Linked DNA regions of Homo sapiens: all the other regions are linked to region 1. The links are contacts of gene promoters, found by promoter capture Hi-C in blood cells and fetal thymus (Javierre and others, 2016). All regions are on one chromosome and are shown on one strand. The core of a region is centred on a gene start or on the middle of the fragment in contact, and the rest is flanking DNA. Distances in the headings are between cores, read along the strand shown. Region 1 holds the start of CCDC57 (coiled-coil domain containing 57). Region 2 has its middle 4.6 kb from the start of TRX-CAT1-8. Region 3 overlaps FOXK2 (forkhead box K2).

What was found. The method cuts DNA at HindIII sites, captures the fragments that hold promoters and counts their contacts. A CHiCAGO score of 5 or more calls a contact.
Region 2: a fragment that was not itself captured here is called in contact with the fragment with the promoter of CCDC57 in region 1 in 1 of 17 cell types (activated CD4 T cells); the score reaches 5.2 in activated CD4 T cells.
Region 3: a fragment that was not itself captured here is called in contact with the fragment with the promoter of CCDC57 in region 1 in 6 of 17 cell types (activated CD4 T cells, naive CD4 T cells, total CD8 T cells and 3 more); the score reaches 12.7 in activated CD4 T cells.

The regions. Positions count from the first base shown.
Region 1 is chr17:82,210,819-82,214,175 of GRCh38, reverse strand. CCDC57 (coiled-coil domain containing 57) reads left to right here and starts at 1,334. Exons shown (of 19, transcript NM_001394669.1): 1 at 1,334-1,391. RefSeq lists an enhancer at 1-923 and a silencer at 874-1,793. The HindIII fragment of the contact is 36,876 bases long and covers 1-3,357 here.
Region 2 is chr17:82,497,825-82,501,008 of GRCh38, reverse strand. No RefSeq gene overlaps it. Among named protein-coding and RNA genes, the nearest start is that of TRX-CAT1-8, 4.6 kb to the right of the region's middle. The HindIII fragment of the contact is 2,729 bases long and covers 426-3,154 here.
Region 3 is chr17:82,545,995-82,549,322 of GRCh38, reverse strand. All of the region lies in intron 1 of FOXK2 (forkhead box K2), which reads right to left. Among named protein-coding and RNA genes, the nearest start is that of FOXK2, 28 kb to the right of the region's middle. The HindIII fragment of the contact is 1,030 bases long and covers 820-1,849 here.

The DNA.
Region 1 (3,357 bases), core at 85-2,584:
TACATCCTGTTCTAATAGAGTGACAAGTCTGATGAGGCTGGGGGTGCACAAGCACTGAGAAGGCAGCAGGACAGGGAGCCAAACACATGGGGTGGTGGGGGAAACCAGGGAGCTGGACACAGGGTGGGGGGGTCCTGGGAGTTGGACACATGGGCCAGGTTGGGGGTCCAGGGAGCTAGACACAGGGGGTGGGGAGGGGAGTCCAGGGGACTAGACACAGAGTGGGGGGTGGGTCCAGGGGGCTAGACACACAGTGTGGGGGGTGGGTCCAGGGAGCCGGACATACACATGGGGTGGGGAGGGGGCATCCAGGGAACCAAGTCTAGGCAGAGGCAACTGGCGCAAAGGACCTGAGGCAGAAGAGGGTTTGGTGTGTGAGGCGGGACTGAGGACTGTGGGCGAGGGAGACAGCTCTACCAGGACGCATGGTTCGGGGAGGACAGGCTGCAGGGTGCCTGGGCTGCAGGCACGGCACGGAGAGGAGTGATCCAGTGTTAACAATGTGGGTGGAGGATGACACCAGACCCCTGGCTTATTGCCCCACCAGGGGAATTCCCAGACACCAAACACCCCCTCCACTCCCACGCAGAATTGCGGGCTGAGGGTTCGGGTGAGCCAGGCTGCTCTGTCCCGGGGCCGGGCTCTGTTCATCCATCCGCAGATGGATACGGACACGTGCCTTTTTCTGAGGATGTGAATGGTTGGGAATGGCTGTGCCTGAGGATGTTGTTCCCACAGGATGGTGGGGGCGACTTCGGGCCTCGGTGGGTCCCGACCCCCCTCCTTCCCCCAGTTCCCTAATCAGGGTCTGAGCGACCGCGCGCACGGCCCCTGGGCCCCGCCGGTCTCCGAGCCCGTGGGCAGCGCCGGGAACTCGTGCCCCGGTGGCCGCAGCCGACCCTTAGGCAGGACTTCGTGGCGCCCCCGGCCCGAACAGACCCCCACGGGCAGCCTCGGCCGCCCCGTGCTCCCTTCATCTCAGGGCAAAAGCTCAAGTCAACCCTTCGGGACCGCGAGCCGGGCGGCCTCAGGAAGCGGGCGCCTGGGGACCCTCGGCCGGGCCGGGGGCGGCGAAGGTGGGGGCGCCTCGCGCGGCGGAACCCGCCGTCCCCATAGCCCGGAGCCCCGTCCGGAGTCGCCCCGCTGACCGGTGAGGAGGCCGGGCTCCCTCCTTCGATCTGCGGCGGTGGTCGGGTCGGCCGGGGCGCCCCTCGGACCCGGGCGCAGCGCGGAACCCGGCGGGGCGGGAGGGGCCGGAACCTAGCGCCAGGGACCCCGTTTCCTGTCGGCGGGACCCGAGCGCTGCACCGAGCGCAGCCGGACGCGGCCGACTGACCCGGTCGCTGTGGCAACGCGGCGGGACCTGGCCAGCGCTGCTGGCGGGCGTTAGGGTGAGGTGCGGGCGGGCGGCGTGGGAGGCGTGGGAGGCGTGGGGGGCGCCGCTCCGACCACTCTTCCTGTAGAAAACCCCAGCAGCTGCCGTCCTGTCGGACGCAGCGCTTTGGTGGGGACCTGGAGCGCGAGGTCGACCCTCAGAGCTCGGCCAGGCCCGGACCGGGGATCCCCTCGCGGAGGCTGCGGCGGGGCGGGGCGGGGGTTGCGGCCGCGTGGAGCGGGAGCGTTCCCTCGGTCTCCCGTGGGTGACCTGGGGCGGTGGGCGCTGCCGACCAGGGCCCCGCAGCCCCGGGAGAATTCCCCGGGTTCCGCCGCCGGCAAGGACGGCTCCGCGCCCAGGCAGCCTTACAGTGTCTGTGAGTTTAAAAAAAAAAAAAAAAAAAGAGAGGAAAAAAAAAGGCCGGAGGCGGTGGTTCGCGCCTGTAATCCAGCACTTTGGGAGGCAGAGGCGGGCAGATTGCTTGAGGCCCGGAGTTCGAGACCAGCCTGGCCAACATGGTGAAACCCCCTCTCTACTAAAAATACAAAAATTATTGGGCGTGGTGGTGCACGCCTGTAATCCCAGCTACTCCGGAGGCTGAAGCAGGAGAATCGCTTGAACCCGATGTTGTAACTGAGGGAGTTATAGAGAGAACGCCACACTCTGAGACTACTCAGGAGTCCTGTATTGCCAGCGACTGACAGACTGCTAGAGCTGCAAATTCCCTCGGCCCCGAAGAAGGGGCTAGATTTCTTTTGATACCTTGGTCTAAATAGAGGAGGGGAGGCTAGCTGAAGCGATTTTTTTACAGAAGCAGAATAGGCAAAAAGTTAAAAGATAAATGGTTACAGAAACAGTTACAGGAAAATAAACAGTTCCAGGTACAGGGGCTTAAATTATCACAAAGTGATAAACGCAGGGGCTTTGGGTACCATCAACCGAGCGCGTTCCCAGGAGCTGCTGGTACAGCTTGCTCCAGTTTCTTATCAGTATTTTATCAGTAAGCGCATTCCTGGATGTGCTTGGAGTCAGCTTGCCCCAGTTATGTCCTTAAGGGACGGGGACAAGGGGCTGCAAGCGAAGAAACCAAAATGGTGTCTGTCCGGCCCTCTCAGCTAAGAGAGAGTCAGTCAGGTTAAAACAAAGTAGGGTACCACACCGAGAGGCGCAGGTTGCGGAGAGCCAAGATCGCGCCATTGCACTCCAGTCTGGGAGACAAGAGCGAAACTCGGTCTCAAAAAAAAAAAAAATTATCTGTAACTTAGAAAAAGGATACAAAAGGAGCACAGATTTCCCGTGTGCCTTTTGCCCAGAGCCCCTAGAATGCTGACCTCTTAGAGAACCACAGTTCATTCAGCAACATGTAGACGCTGGCGTTCATGTTGGTATCATCCCATGATCTGGTCTCCAGTATTTATTCTTGCTTAGCAGCTACCTCATGGATGACTTTACCGTGGTCCAGGATCCAATGATGAGTCCACTATTTTATAAAATGCCCCCCAGTTCGGGGGCATTTCTCTGATGTTTTGTCATAATTGATTTCATATTACTGATTTTTGGCAAGAAAACCTCAACAGGGAAATTGTGCCCTTCCCAGCGTCTTACGAGACACAGGATGCCCCTGGCTGTTGGTGCTAGTCACGTCCTGGGGGCTGAGGTGGTGTCTGCCAAGTGTGTCCATAAAGTTAGGGTCCTTCCCTTTGTAAATAATAAATATTTTGTGGGGAAATATCTTGCCACTATGTAAAAGATGATGTTTCTTTCTTTCTCTCTTTTTCTTTTTTTTTTTTCTTTTTTTTTTTTTTTTAAGACGGAGTCTCTCTTTGCCGCCCAGGCTGGAGTTCAGTGGCGCGATCTCGGCCCACTGCAACCTCTGCCTCCTGGGTTGAAGTGATTCTCCTGCCTCAGCCTCTCAAGTAGCTGGGATTACAGCCGCCCACCACCACCCCCAGCTAATCTGTGTATTTTTAGTAGAGACGAGG
Region 2 (3,184 bases), core at 541-3,040, 290 kb before region 1:
GTTGCAGTGAGCCGAGATCACACCACTGCACTCCAGCTTGGGCGACAGAGTAAGACTCCCTCTCAAAAAAAAAAAAAAAATTTTTTTTTTGGCTGGGCACAGTGGCTCATGCCTGTAGTCCCAGCTACTCACGAGGCTGAGGTGGGATGATCCCTGGAGTCCAGGAGTTTGAGTTCACCTGGCCAAAGAGGCTGGCTGGGAAGATCTGAGGCCCAGCCATAGGGCCCCAGGTAGGGCAGTGTCCACCCTGCCTCCTGGGGAAGCACTGGAGGAGGCATGGGGGTTGTGCTGGGCTCTGCAGTCCCTTCGACCCAGCTATGCTATGGCCAGCTGCCACGTGCTCACCTGGCCAGAAATTGACCCACGGGGCTCCTGACCACTAGCCCCAGGCAAGAGGAGCACACAAGGCTTGGGGAGATCAAGCTTTGAAATACTTCCCAACACACAGTCTGGAACATTCTCCGAACATCTGACTCCCATAGTGTGAGCAGAGAACCTACTCTTGAATGCTGGTCAGGATGGGAAATCCCTCCTGGAGGGCAGATTCTATGGAGCTGGTCCCTGCCCCACAGCAGAAATTTTGCTGCAGTGAACCATTTCTTGGAATGCCTGTGCTTGCAGGGCACACGCCTGTGGCAGCACCAACTGTGATCCCTGGAGTGTGAAGTCACATCAAGGCTTTGCACATCTGAAACATATGCAATTGTCCTGAGAAATTCTGGAAGTTCCAGAAGAAATAACACACAAATTGCTAATAACACAGCAAAAGTAGCTGAAGAGATGTGTGTTCTCAGGACAGAACCCCTTCACACACTCGCAAGTCAGTATGTGTGGTGTATTGTTATTTTGTTTATTTATTGATGGAGTCTCTGTCTGTCGCCCAGGCTGGAGTGCAGTGACATGATCTCTGCTCACTGCAACCTCCACTTCCTAGGTTCAAGCGATTCTCCTGCTTCAGCCTCCCGAGTAGCTGGGACGACAGGCGCATGCCACCATGCCCGGCTAAATTTTTGTATTTTTTTTTTTTTTTTTTTGAGACGGAGCCTCGCTCTGTCGCCCAGGCTGGAGTGCAGTGGCGTGATCTGGGCTCACTGCAAGCTCCGCCTCCCGGGTTCACGCCATTCTCCTGCCTCAGCCTCCCAAGTAGCTGGAACTACAGGCATCCACCACCACACCCAGCTAATTTTTTGTATTTTTAGTAGAGACGGGGTTTCACCACGTTAGCCAGGATGGTCTTGATCTCCTGACCTCACGATCCGCCTGCCTTGGCCTCCCAAAGTGCTGGGATTACAGGCGTGAGCCACCGCGCCCGGTGAATTTTTTGTATTTTTAGTAGAGATGGGGTTTCATTGTGTTAGCCAGGATGGTCTCGATCTCCTGACCTCGTGATCCGCCCACCTCAGCCTCCCAAAGTACTGGGATTACAGGCGTGAGCCACCGCATCCGGCCAGTGTATTGTTATTTTATTACACAATTGTGGAGCTCAAGACAAAGTACTGTATCACAACAGAAATTAAAAACACTAATGGTCAAAACCATGAAGGAAAAGAATCGTCGTAACTAAAAAAATATGGAGAATGAAAATGACGATACAGACATTATGAGAGAACACACCAAACAGAAAGCAAAGATGCAGAAGGGAGCTGAAGGTCACAGACAGGAAAACCACAGCTGGTCCAGTCAGCAGGACACACACTGGGCTGGCCACAGACACACCCACAAATTTGCTGGTTTCAGTACCACGCTGTCTCATTACACCTGTTACGACGAGCAGTAATTCCACTCAACACTTTTTAGTGGAAGATTTATTGTTCAAGATTCCGATCCTGCAACTTGCACTTAATCAACTAAAACACATCAGACAAAACAGATGCTTCTCAAAACATTTTGAAACCATTTTTTTTTTTGGAGACAGAGTCTCGCTCTGTCACCCAGGCTGGAGTCCAATGGCACCATCTCGGCTCACTGAAGCTCCGCCTCCCGGGTTCAAGCGATTCTCCTGCCTCAGCCTCTCGAGTAGCTGGGATTACAGGCGCCACCACGCCGCGCTAATTTTTTGTATTTTAGTACAGGCGGGGTTTCACCATGTTGTCCAGGCTGGTCTTGAACTCCTGAACTCAGGCAATCTGTCCACGTAGGCCTCTCAAAGTGCTAGGATTACAGGGGTGAAACACCACTCCCGGCCAAAATAGGTTTTTTTAAACAGAAAAACTGCCACCTGATGTTGGTTAGTCTTTCCTAAGACTAAACATTGCCTATGTTGTTTGGTTGTATAGGTTTTTAAACCAGACCGACATTACCTACATCAGGGAGTCTTTTACATAAATGAATACCGGTTTTTTTTTTTTTTTTTTTTTTTGAGACAGAGTCTCACTGTCACTCAGGCTGGAGGGCAGTGGCACGATCTCGGCTCACTGTAACCTCCGCCTCCCAGGTTCAAGTGATTCTCCTGCCTCAGCCTCCCGATAGCTGGGATTACAGGCACACACCACCACGCCCGGCTAATTTTTGTATTTTTAGTAGAGACGGGGTTTCACCATGTTGGCCAGGATGGTCTCGATCTCTTGATCTTGTGATCCACCCGCCTCGGCCTCCCAAAGTGCTGGGATTACAGGCATGGGCTACCGCGCCCGGCCCCATCAGTGAGTATCTTGAGAACCCTCAACAATCACAAAGGCTCCGCATAGCACACGAAGGATTTGTGGACTTGAGTCACACAGAAATCACGAACAGAATGTACGTGGTGTCATTAGTGAAGAAGAGTGAATAGTAAACATGGAAGTCAGCCTGCGTTTCTCCGGAAATCACAACGCTGGAAAGCTGGTATTAAGCCGCTCTGGGCCGGGCGGGGTTGCTCACACCTGCACTCCCAGCGCGTAGGAGGCCGAGGCGGGAGGATCCACGGAGCTCAGGAGTTCGAGACCAGCGTGAGCAACAGTGTGAGACCCACCCCCCCACCCACCCCCAGTCCTCTACCAAAGACAAAGGAAAAACGCTACCGGGAAGACGCGCGGAATTCCGGGCCAGTCACTGCGCGGGGCACTTGAAATGCCTGAAATCCTTCCCGTCACATAGGAGAGGTTGGGCCAGATCTGACAGCAACCCTCAAAGTGTCTAGAGCGTTGCCAAAGAGAATACACAGTGGACAGAAGCTTTTCTAAATGCCCCATAATAACAAGCACGT
Region 3 (3,328 bases), core at 85-2,584, 340 kb before region 1:
ATTTGCTGCACTGTAACTGTGATAAGGAAGTTGCTGGACAGGGCTGCCAGGTCTGCAGTTCGGTGTGGCAACTTGGTGTTGGGGTAAAGGCTGGCTCAGGAGCACACACCCTCACACTTAAGATCCTCACACTCGGAGCTACAGGCAAGGGCCACACCCAGAAGAGGAGGGAGGTGGACTTCAAGTGGCCTCGTAAAACAAAGACACATTCTCCTATAATGTTCAGTCATTCGGGATGTGTTTTAGACTAAGGAAGATTTCCACTCCAGGTCCTGCCAGAGGCTGCTGTGAGAAACTATCACGCTGGTCCTCTCATCTGGATCACCAGACAACAGCTGGGGATCTTAGTGCAGATGGCAGGGTCAGGCTCTCTGGAGGTCTCACGGGTGGTGGCAGTGGAAAGTGCACAGCCCTCCTGTGCCGATGCATCGAGACGCAACCGCTCCTCGGAGGTGAGAATGCTCTTGAGATCATTCTACCCCACACCCGCCCAAATGACATTCACGTAAAACCAAAAAGGGCTCTCTGCCAAACACCCATGCCTCCCCCAGGGTGAGGTCACGGGAGAGGCTGTGGGACAGCGCCTGGGTCCTTTCCTTCCTCTATTCAGTCCACAGCAATTCCTTCTGCTAATTCAGCTGAGCAGTAGCCTCCAAATGCTTTTGACTGTACACCTCTAAGTGAAAAATTAAGTAGAAATCAATATTTGAATATATGAAATACAGTATCAACAAACAGGGCAAAGGATGGAATGGGAGAAAATATTCACAATACACCTATCTCACAAAGGACTTCTGTTCAGGGTATATAAACAAAGCTTAATATTCAGTAAGAAGGTAAACAACCCATTAAAAATGGTCATTCACTACAGATGACATAGAAATGGCCAAAAGCACATGTAGAGATGCTCAACAGCAAGGCAAATTAAACCACGGTTGATGTAAATGATCCAAAGTATTAAAAAAAAATACACATACTGACATACCACTACACACCCAGATAATGGCTAATATAAGAAGACTGACAAAACCAAGTGCTGACAAGGATATGGAGCAACTAGCTGTCACATACTGCCAGCAAGAATACAAACTGGTGCAACTGCTCTGGAAAAGTGGGTCAGCTTTTCTGTGAAATAAATGCACACTGACCACCTGGCCCCACCACTCGTACTTGTAGTTATCTGCCAAGAGAAGTGAGAGCACCAGTTCACACAAATGTGACTCCTACACAGACGTTCACAGCAGCGTGATGCACAGCAGCCCAGACTGGACACTGTCTAGACAGTCAGCCGTAGGTGAATGGATCCACAAATGGGGGTACATCCATAGAAGAGAATCCACTCAGCTGCCGCCCAGCAATCGCAAAGGAAAACTGCCCACACAAGTAACACTGATGAACCTCAAATATACCATGTGAATAAGAGCGAGCCAAACACCAGTATATTCTACATGATTCCATGTTTATGAAACCCTGGAAGAAAACACTTCTACGGGAGGGGAGGCACAGAGTTGAGTGTCTGGGACTCTCCAGGGGGATGAGGCTGACTGCCAAGGGGCAAGAGGAAGGTTTGGGGTGAGGGGTAATATCTGGATCTATTATTTTGATTGTGATTTCGGCTACATGGTGTATACAGCTGTCAAAACTCTTTGAAAGGTACCCTTAAGTTTGTTTTATGTGAAATATTCCTCAAAAAAAAGTTTAAAGTAAAAATAAGCTGGCAACAATATATTAATATATGTATAAATTATATTACAGTATTGCACACTGTAAAACAGAAAAATAGCAACTAAGCAGGATGAAAAAAATAACCAGAAGTATTATTTTTCTTCCTAAACTCTTAAAACAAGCTTGTCCAACCCACGGCCCGTGGGCTGCATGCAGCCCAGGATGGCTTTGAATGTGGCCCAATACAAATTCATAAACTTTCTTAAAACATTATGATTTTTGTGATTTTTTCAGCTTACCAGCTCTTGTTAGTGTAGACAATACTTTTTCCAATGTGGCCCAGGAAAGCCTAAAGACTGGACACCCTGAATGTAAAGTATCACCTTGATCACTTCCGGGGAACCACAATGGAGAACCACAATACTACAATGTGAACCACAATACTACACCCTGAATATTCTAAACACAGGGAGTATGATGCTTAAGGTTGTAGCTTTAAAATCAGTAGTAATAGACAGTATACACTATAAGAGAGATCAGTGTATTCTTTCTTTCTTTCTCCTTCCTTTTTTTTTTTTTTTGATGGAGTTTTTGCTCCTGTCGCCCAGGTTGGAGTGCAGTGGTGCCATCTCGGCTCACTGTGACCTCCACCTCCCGGGTTCAAGTGATTCTCCCACCTCAGCCTCCAGAGTAGCTGGGACTACAGGCACCCACCACCACGCCCGACTAATTTTGGTATTTTTAGTAGAGACGGGGTTTCACCATGTTGGGCGGGATGGTCTCAATCCCCTGACCTCAGGTGATCCATCTGCCTCGGCCTCCCAAAGTGCTGGGATTCCAGGTGTGAGCCACCGCACCCGGCCTGAGTTCTTTATTTAAAAGCGAGTTTTAGGTTGGGCTCAGTGGCTTACACCTATTATCCCTGAACTTGGGAGTCTGAGGTGGGAGGAACACTTGAGCCCAGGAGTTCAAGACCAGCCTGGGCAACATGGTGAGACCCCCGTCACCGTTTAAAAAAAAGGAAAAGAAAAGCGAGGTGTTACCTCTGTTTGACACTGGGACGCAGCACTTCACTCTTGGGGCACTCTACAGATTACCTCTCCCTCCACTCGGGACCTGCAGCGAAGAGCTCCTGCATGTGCACTCAGACTCCTAGCTTCCCCACCACACTTACAAGGCGAGCTGCACCGAGAGGTGAACATTTGTTAATGTGCAGGAAAGTATTTTTAATATACCACGCTGGCTGGGTGCAGTGGTTCATGCCTGCGATCCCAGCACTCTGGGAGGCCGAGGCAGGTGGATCACCTGAGGTCAGGAGTTTGAGACCAGCCTGGCCAACACGGCGAAATCCCGTCTCTACCAAAAATACAAAAATTAGGCGGGAGTGGTGGCAGGCACCTGTAATCCCAGCTCCTCAAGAGGCTGAGGCAGGAGAATTGTTTGAACCCAGGAGGCGGAGGTTGCTGTGAGCCAAGATGGCACCACTGCACTCCAGCCTGGGCGACCAAGCGAGACTCCATCTCAAAAAAAAAAAAAAAAAAAACCAACCATGCTTGGTAGCAAGTAAGCACATAGAAGGATCTTCAACATCATTAGTCATTAGGGAAATGCAAATTAAAACCACAATACCTGCTAAAATACCTAAAATAAAAAAGAGAGAAAA